3 separate regions of the Homo sapiens genome follow, and regions 1 and 2 are each linked to region 3. Evidence: promoter capture Hi-C in 16 types of primary human blood cells and fetal thymus (Javierre and others, 2016). All regions are on one chromosome and are shown on one strand. The core of a region is centred on a gene start or on the middle of the fragment in contact, and the rest is flanking DNA. Distances in the headings are between cores, read along the strand shown. Region 1 has its middle 120 kb from the start of LINC01910. Region 2 overlaps LOC105376872 (a long non-coding RNA gene). Region 3 holds the start of CBLN2 (cerebellin 2 precursor).

What was found. Contacts are between HindIII fragments. The CHiCAGO score rates a contact against its expected background, and 5 or more counts as called.
Region 1: a fragment that was not itself captured here is called in contact with the fragment with the promoter of CBLN2 in region 3 in 1 of 17 cell types (endothelial precursors); the score reaches 6.7 in endothelial precursors.
Region 2: a contact is called between a fragment that was not itself captured here and the fragment with the promoter of CBLN2 in region 3, in 1 of 17 cell types (endothelial precursors). The highest score is 27.5, in endothelial precursors.

The regions. Positions count from the first base shown.
Region 1 is chr18:70,501,705-70,504,634 of GRCh38, reverse strand. No RefSeq gene overlaps it. Among named protein-coding and RNA genes, the nearest start is that of LINC01910, 120 kb to the right of the region's middle. The HindIII fragment of the contact is 9,214 bases long and covers 1-2,930 here.
Region 2 is chr18:70,483,412-70,486,297 of GRCh38, reverse strand. LOC105376872 (a long non-coding RNA gene) reads right to left here. Exons shown (of 3, transcript XR_935606.3): 2 at 1-53. Among named protein-coding and RNA genes, the nearest start is that of LINC01910, 100 kb to the right of the region's middle. The HindIII fragment of the contact is 1,290 bases long and covers 975-2,264 here.
Region 3 is chr18:72,542,831-72,545,867 of GRCh38, reverse strand. It overlaps CBLN2 (cerebellin 2 precursor), which reads left to right and starts at 1,526. Exons shown (of 5, transcript NM_182511.4): 1 at 1,526-1,891; 2 at 2,338-2,382. The HindIII fragment of the contact is 3,863 bases long and covers 1-1,654 here.

The DNA.
Region 1 (2,930 bases), core at 214-2,713, 2.0 Mb after region 3:
CTACTAAAAATACAAAAATTAGCCCAGCTTGGTGGCGCACGCCTGTAATCCCAGCTATTCAGGAAGCTGAGACAGGAGAATCACTTGAACCCAGGAGGCGGAGGTTACAGTGAGCCAAGATCACACCACTGCACTCCAGCCTGGGCGACAGAGCAAAACTCCACCACCCCCCACAAAAAAAAAAAAAAAAAAGCCTATAAATGTTGATTTTTTTTCATCCCATCCCTAACTTTTATGTGCAAAACACCTGGCTGCCTATTTTTGCAATACAAGTCACCTCCGGGCCACCACCTCCAAAAAAGGAAGATGATCTTTTTAAAGAAATTGGGCACAATATTGGGAAGAAACAGAAGAGTCATTTCAAGAGACATAGCACTAAGCAAAGCCATCTGTAATTTGGTGTTTTAGAAAGTATCAAGAACTAAGCCATGGAGCATGGAATGCAGGGTTCTTTCACTGCATTGGCCCATGTTGGGGGCCTCCTGTACCCTGCATATATAAGCAGAGACTACAAGTTAAAAGTCACAGAATGGAAGTGGTTTGAATACGCTTCATTTCATTTTAGTTTTTCTGTTATTTTTCTTTACTTGCGTGTATTCCTGTGAATACATCCTTGTTAAATTAAAAAAAAAAAAAACTAATCCATGAAGTCTGGGCTCTCAGTCATAAGTTTTTAGTGCCTCATTCTTAAGTATGAATGTGCAACCAAGTGTCACCAGATATTTCAGGAAATCCTGCAACATAAGGACCAAGATTAAAAAGACAATATAAAACCCAAGATTTAAGAAAGTAAATAAATTAACCCTGGGGGTTGCGGGGGCGGGTAGGAAAAAGAAACAATAAAGGAAAAGAAAAAATTTTAAGTGATACATTCAAAGACCTCTAAGGAAATAGTCTATCCACAAATAATAATATTTGCTATCAAAATGAAAAAATTAGAGAATCAGAAAATACTCAGGAATTAAAATATGATTGCCAGTCACTTGGAAGATAAGACATTCAATGAAGAATATCTTACAGAAAAGCAGAATATAAAGAAGAGATGATAGTCATCAAATAAAATTGGATGAAATCAAGTTTGTTTTCCATCAAACTAACAGATTCCCAACAGAGACAACAGAGAAGAGAAAAAAAGAGAATAATTAGATAATTTTTAGAATACTGAGAATAAAGAAAAGATATTAAGGCTTCCAGAGAATATGGGAGAAAAATAATCTGCTAAGGAAAGAGAATCACTAACACTGGAAGGTAGATGACAATGTAGTAATATCTTCAAATTTCTCACGGGAAAATAATTCTCAATGGAAAATTCTACATAAGCCAACCACTTAATCATTTATAAGGGCTGATTGAAGACATTTTCAAATATGCATGACTCAGCATATTGATTTCCCTCTTAGGAAGTTAATGAAGGGTGTAATTCAGCAAGAGGAAGGACTAAGAAAGAAGAAATTAGGGAATGTAGTAAAGAGATGATCCAACTGAGAAGAGCTATGAAGGACAGTCCCAGGATAACAGCTGTGTAGCTATCCTAGAGAGCAATCAGTTAAAAGCAGAGAAAGATAAATAAAATAAAATAACAAAATAAAGTAAAGGATATAGAGATAAGTGTTGGGCAAGGGGATATCAACAGAATAAATGGTAGTATATTGAGTTATTTTAAAATGAGGCTATGGTAAATGTATAGGGTAAAGTAAAAAAATAAAGGCAATAGAAACTCCATGGAAGACAAAGAGTTAAAAAAAAACAAAGAAAATCATTGTGCATTACACGGTGCTCTAGAGAACAATAAGTATCCAGTCAGATCAAGAAAACTATTTCATTTCCAAGTTATTATCAAACTCTTGACAAAGAAAAGAAGACAATTATGGTTAAAGAATGGAATCAAAGATTGTGTTGACAAACAAGTAAACAAGATTTGGAAAGTAAGTAGGAAGAGTTGAAAGAATAATGTTATTAATATACTCATATCACATCATATCACACTGTAGGTAATCAAGAGATATTATCTATATATAATGAAACAAGAGATTAAAAGGTAAAATATTACTTAGAGTTCAAGAGAAATCAATCAAGGAACTAAAGCTAGTAATACAGTCATCCCTTGACACACTAAATTAGAATCTGTGGGGTGGGACCCAGCAATCTGTTTTAATACTCCCTCCAGTAGAGTCTGACGCTTACTAAAGTATAAGAACCACTGCTATAGACATAGAAAAAAACTGGGAAGAATAGACACCCAATTATTAAGAAAGCCCAGAGGAGCAGGACTTCTGTATTCTTGATTTTTAATGAGTAAGTGTTATTTTCATAATATAGAGTTTACATTGTGCAAATATGTGTAAGTATATATGTGTAGCAAAATACGGATAAAGTTTCTGGAATCATCAAAGTATGTTTTACTTCCCCAGAAAAACAGAGGAAAAGTCTTAGATATGCTCTCTGGACACTGTAACAAATCCAAGACAGAGTTGAACATATGTACAGATATAACAAACATTCCAGAACTTGGATCAAAATTCTAAACGAGTACATATACAGCAAAAGAAGCATTTCCCACAGTCTCTCTCCAGCATGATAATACTGTATGTTTCTGATGTTCCTAAGTGCTGTATCCACATAAAATACACTGGCAAGAAAACTGTTAAATAACCAAAGCAGATTCAATTTCTTCCTCACAAATCTTATTCTAATTCTGGCTAAAAGAGCCCAAATTATTTCAAATATGTTCATTATACTGCTAATCAACTTTGATTTTCACAAATCAAAATGTAAATTAACATACTTAATCACAGCCTTTTTAATCCAGTAAGTCCATTCAACTCAATATTTTTGGATCATATCCTAAAGTAAAGAAAACCTATATAGGTTAGAAGAGTTCTCAGTACTTGAGATAAAAGCTATTTGTGTATGAAATACTTAGAAAGAAC
Region 2 (2,886 bases), core at 370-2,869, 2.1 Mb after region 3:
CATTAGGATGTGGTTTATAAATATTCCCAGTAACATCTCATTGATTTCATTTTCTGAGTAGTGAAGAAAATCATCAAGTATGGAAAAGAGTTAAGCTCCCAGTGTGCCCAAGTTTGGTCTCTAATAATTCCTAATATTACAACCTCAATGGTGAAAACTGTAATCATTCAGTTGTAGGTGACAGGTTCAGGCTAGGCCAAATAGTAATATATTCCCAAACCACCACATATCACAAAATCATCTTTACCGGTTTTATCAACAACATGAAGAAGTGATTTTACCTCCGTGTAAATTTATGCAAACAGCTTTTCTATTAGCAATGTATTTTGGTGTTTTTAAATGCAGTTTCATAGCCCACTCCCTCACTCAAAATACTGTAAATAAAAAACACCTTATGTCTAAGATTTTATCTTCTCCGCAATTTTCACTATTTCCTTTAACAACCAGAGTCATGTTGTTGACTATGAACCTTTCTCTTTGAATAAACACTGACTATTGGTGGAATCACTTTATTTTTATATAAAAGCCCTTGTTCATTGAACATATTTCAGCCATCTTAAAAATACTAGTCCCCATGCAGGGAACCCCTGGCTTGGGCCCACAGCACAGACTCTCCATCCTGGACTGATTGCACTGAGTGATTGACGACCTGCATTTCTCTGGGGTGGAGTCCCCAGGAGACAAGCAAAAGACCCTTGGACACAACCACTACTAATGTCCCTTCCTCTGCTGCCTCCAAGTTGGGGAGGGAACATAAACCCTGAGATCACCCCAGAGCTGTGGTGGGTAGCTCAGGAGTGCCAAGCTGCAATCTACAGCCAGCACTCAAGTGAGAGAAGAGCCAAAATTTCAGAGCACTGAGAGGGAGTGTGGCTGCAACAGTAAGGAAATATAGGGAAGCCACACAACTGAGCAACAGCCTAACAACTGACCGATATGCCTAAGCACCACCTACTGAATCACACTCCAAAGCTTCAACCCCCAAAATACCTCACTAACATACCCTACTGTGAAACCAAAGACAAGCAGTCAGCTACAAATAAAGATGCTGCACAAAAAGCCTCATCCCTGTGAAAACATCCAGAAAAGAAGTCTATTGACTGTACTCAATATACACTGCAGTTAAAGGAACACCCACATGCAGAGATGAGAAAGAACCAATGCAAGAACTCAGGTAATGCAGTAGTTCTCCAACAAGAGTTCTTTTTTTCTTTCCTTTTCTTTTTTTAAGACGGAGTCTCGCTGTGTCACCAGGCTGGAGTGCAGTGGTGTGATCTTGGCTCACTACAACCTCTGCCTCCCAGGTTCAAGCCATTCACCTGCCTCAGCCTCCCAAGTAGCCGGGACTACAGGCACGCACCACTACACGCAGCTAACTTTTGTATTTTTAGTAGAGACGGGGTTTCACCCTGTTGGCCAGGATGGTCTCAATCTTTTGACCTTGTGATCTGCCCACCTCAGCCTCCCGAAGTGCTAGGATTACAGGCATGAGCCACTGCGCCCGGCCCCAACAAGAGTTCTTAACCAAGTTCAGTTGGCTGAAAAGACAGAAATATAATTCAGAATATGGATAGGAACAAAGATCCTCAAGATTCAGAATAGTAAAACCCAATCCAAGGAAACTAAATATCACAATAAAATGATACAGAAGCTGAAAAATGGCATAGCCAGATCCTAATGGATCTCACAAAACTGAAAAACACTACAAGAATTTCACAATGCAATTGCAAATATCAGTAGTGGAATAGACCATGCTGAGGAAGGAATCTAAGAAATTAAAGACTGCCTCTCTGAAATAAGACAGTCAAATGAAAATAAAGAAATTAGAATGAAAAGGAATGAACAAAACCTCTGAAAAATATGGAATTATATAAAGAAGGCAAATCTACCAACCACTGGTGTCCCTGAAAAGGAAGGGGAGAAAGCAAACAACTTGGAAAACATATTTCAGGATATCATCTATGAAAACTTCCCCAGTCTCGCTGGAGAGGCCAACAGTCAAATTCAGGAAATAGAGAACTCCTGCAAGATTCTACTCAAGAAGATCATCCTTAAAACACGTAATCATCAGACTTTCCAAGGTTGAAATGAAAGAATGGTAGAGGCAGCTAGAGAAAAAGGGCAGATTGCCTACAAAGGGAACACCATCAGGCTAGCAGTCCACCCCCCAGCTGAAACCCTACAAGCCAGAAGAAACTAGGGGCCTATAGTCAACATTCTTAAAGAAAAAAAAAATAACCAAGAATAGCCAGCCAAACTAAGCTTCCTACGTGAAGAAGAAATCCTTTTCAGATAAGCAAATTTTGAGGGAGTTTGTTACCACCAGATCTGCTTACAAAAGATCTTTAAAGGAGAACTAAATATAGAAAGGAAAGACCATTACCAGCAAATACAAGAACACACTTAAATACACAGACCAGTCACACTATAAAGCAACATAATAACCAGCTAAAAACACAAGGACAGGATCAAAACCACTCATATCAATACAAACCTTGAATGTAAATGGGCTAAATGCCCCCACTTAAAAGGCACAGAGTGGCAAGCTGAATAAAAAAGCAAGACCCAATGGTATCCTGTCTTCAAGAAACCGATCTCACACATAATGACACCCATAGGCTCAAAATAAAGAGATGGAGAAAAAATCTACCAAGCAAACGGAAATCATAAAAAGCAGATCCCATCACCAATATATATGCACCCAACATAGGAGCACCCAGATTCATAAAACAAGTTCTTAGAGACCTTTAAAGAGACATAGACTCACACATAATAATAGTGGGAAACCTCAAAACTCCATTGACAGTATCAGACAGAACATCAAGACAGAAAGTTAACAAAGGTATTTAGAGGCTGAACTCAACATTGGACCAAATGGATCTGATA
Region 3 (3,037 bases), core at 277-2,776:
TTGCATTTATATTAGTCAAAAGGAATGCTTACAGTATTGAGGAAAGATGCTGAGTAGAGTTGCTATTTAAGGACTTACAGATGTGTGAGAGGTATTGCTATAAATTAGCATCCCCAGATTGGTCTAATTATGTCTGTGTCTCACATGTCTTTCAAATATCTAGTGTTCTTTGCTATCTATGCTTACACTTAAATCAGTTCTCTCTATGGTGGAATGATGGATGGGGGCTTATTTTGACAGTAAGACACTATCACATGGATGAAATAGTGGAATAAAATAACTATTTGAAAGTAAGAGTGCATTTCCACTCTGTTAAACTCACAAAAATGGTAACAAAACATGGCAAACTGTGGTGGATTTGAAAAAGCATCCTGGCAAATGCCAGTACCTATCTCCAGCATGGTACAAAAGTGTTGAAGTATGACATTTACTTTACAGTGAGTATAGCTTAGGAGGATGAGAGATTTTGGAAGTATTGTATATTTTCTACTATTTTGCATGCTAGGTTAACCAGGAAGCATTTGGCTCAGAGGTACTTTTAATCACATCCTTACACCCATACTAAATATTTTGTCTCACGCAGCAGTGTGCAATGACTTTCTGCATATCCATTCCAGTTGAACTGATCGTGAATTTCATCTCCAGTGCTTAGAGATGATGCCTTGGCAGTTCTGTTCTAAATGGGGAGAATAGCGGTGAGAGGGCCTATGGGAAAATAAGGCCTTCAAAACCCCCTACCTGAAAAGACCTCCGTTTGTTAAGGTGGAATCAGACACTGCTGAAATCTTCAAAGGGGAGAGGGTTCGGTGTGAAGTCTGGAGGAATAAGAAATACAGATGCTCTAATGAACAGCACTGGCTAACTTTATTATTATTATTATTATTATTATTATTAGCCTATCAGAAAAGACGTATAATGCATGTCAAAGGACAAAGTATTTTTTAACCATGTTTTAAAAAAAAATCAGGCTATAGAGTGTAGATTTAAATATTGATTGTTTTTTAGACCAGCATAAACTATACGGCCCAGTTGTCTGTGCAAACGTTGTGCCGACGATAATAACCGATGATAACCTCACCGCAGCATTTATCATCTTGGCAGAGTTGTTTGTTAGATCAGTGAAGATCCGGAAAATCAGGCGGCGTGCTGCTTGGTTTTGCCAGGAGTAAAAGTACTGAAGGATACCGGGAAGACTGGTCATTATTGTTCTTCTTGTGGTTGCTATCATTATTATTATTATTATATTATTATTATTGCAGAGGTCAGCGCTGCTTTTGGGGTGAAAGAAGACCATCAGCAAACCTCAGCCTTGCGGCCAGGACTCCCCCGTCTTCTGTCGGAGTCCGCCGGTCCGCAGCCTGCGGCAGGGAGGCCCGGGCACCCGCAGGTGGCGCCCCACGTCCGTGTTTGCGCCCTCAGCCGAGCTCCAGGCGCAGCTGGGAAACCCAGCGCGTCTCCCCGGGTCCTTTGAGCGAGCGCGGACACCGCAATTTAATAAATAAGCGCAAGCGCCAGCCGCTCCACCAGTCCGAGGTCCAGAGGAGCAGACACACAGACCCGGGCCGGAGGCCCCTCTTCTAGCCCTGCGGGAACCGGACAGTTCCCCAACTGGGACTCTGGAACCACAGCTCCTAAATCATCAAATTCTCAAGCTTTTTTTTTCCCTCTCTTCGTCCCAGCCATCCCAGTCTTCTTCTTCTTTTTTTTTTTTTTAACTTATTGTTTTTTTCGCTCCTGTCATTATGAAAGTGGTCACGCCATTCAATATTAAGACTTGGAGGGAATTGGGGAAAGAAAAGAAAGAATCTAAAAGAAGAGAAGCGACCGGTGCTTTTAAGGGTGTCTAATTTTCAAAAGAGACGTCTGGGAGTATTTTGCTCTGGGCGTTTGGGTGAGCAGGACCGGGGCGTTGGAGGGTGCGGCGGGCTTGGGAGCAGGGAAGGTTCCGAGTCCTAGGGAGGCGGCAGCGCTCGGCTATGCCCTCTGGAGACTGGCGGGGCTGCGGGGCCGAGGGGACCCGCGAGGGAGCCGCGCTGCGGACGCGCTGAGCGCGGGAGCTCGAGGGGCCCCAGGCAGCGGTGCGGGCGCGAAGCCCAGGGGTTGGAGGCACCTGGGCGCACAGCGCGGGGCGCTGAGCCGGGCGAGACGCGGGGTTCCCGGTCCCGGGCGCGGCGCCTAAGCGGGCGCGCGGGGCGTGGTGCACCCCTGAAGCGGCGCAGGCTGGCGCGGGAAAGCGGCAGGGCGGGGCGGCGCGGTTATTGGCCACGCGCTGGGAGCAGGGTCGCGCTCCGTGTCCTCCTCCCGACAGCTCCCACTCGCCTCATTTTCTCTAAGCAGAGCAACTTCGCGGACAGCGGAGCTCGCCCAGCATGGATGTTCCAGGTAACCACCCCCGACCTGCCCTCCCCTCCGCATGCAAGCGCCTTCTGCGTGGATTTTAACGAAGACTCTCCCTGGTCCAGATCGAGGGGTGGAGGAGGTGGAGAGAGAGAAGGGAAATCATGTAGGATCGGGGCTGCGGACAGCGGATATTTATCAAGAGCCAACTTCTCTGTTCTTAGAAAGAATACTGGAAGAGTTAATGGGAGGCTGTGGGCGGCGAGGGGGCGGCTTCTCTGCGTGTCTCTGGGCTGGTATTGAAATGGCCTGTCTGCTTTCCTGGGAGGAGCGGGGACGGGGCAAAAGTGCAGACGGGCGCGTAAGTTCGCAGAAACCTGCAGGGGCTGCCGCCCCGCTGAGAAAGAGAGAATCCCCGTGGTCTGGAAACCAGAGCTGGAGAATAACCCAAGCCTGGGATTCCGTCGTTGGAATCGGTCCTTCGCCTAAGAGAGGAATCCCAGGGGTTTCACCCAAGGGGGCTCGCTAGTGGCTGCAGGGACCTTGGAAGTAGGTGTTTGGCTTTACTGCCCGTGTGTGTGTGTGTGTGTGTGTGTGTGTGTGTGTGTGTGTGTGTGTGTGGTGTCATTTCCCCCCTAGTAATCTTATTCGCCCCAAGGAGATTCCTGGGATTTGTTCTGTGGGTGGAAAACAGATAAAA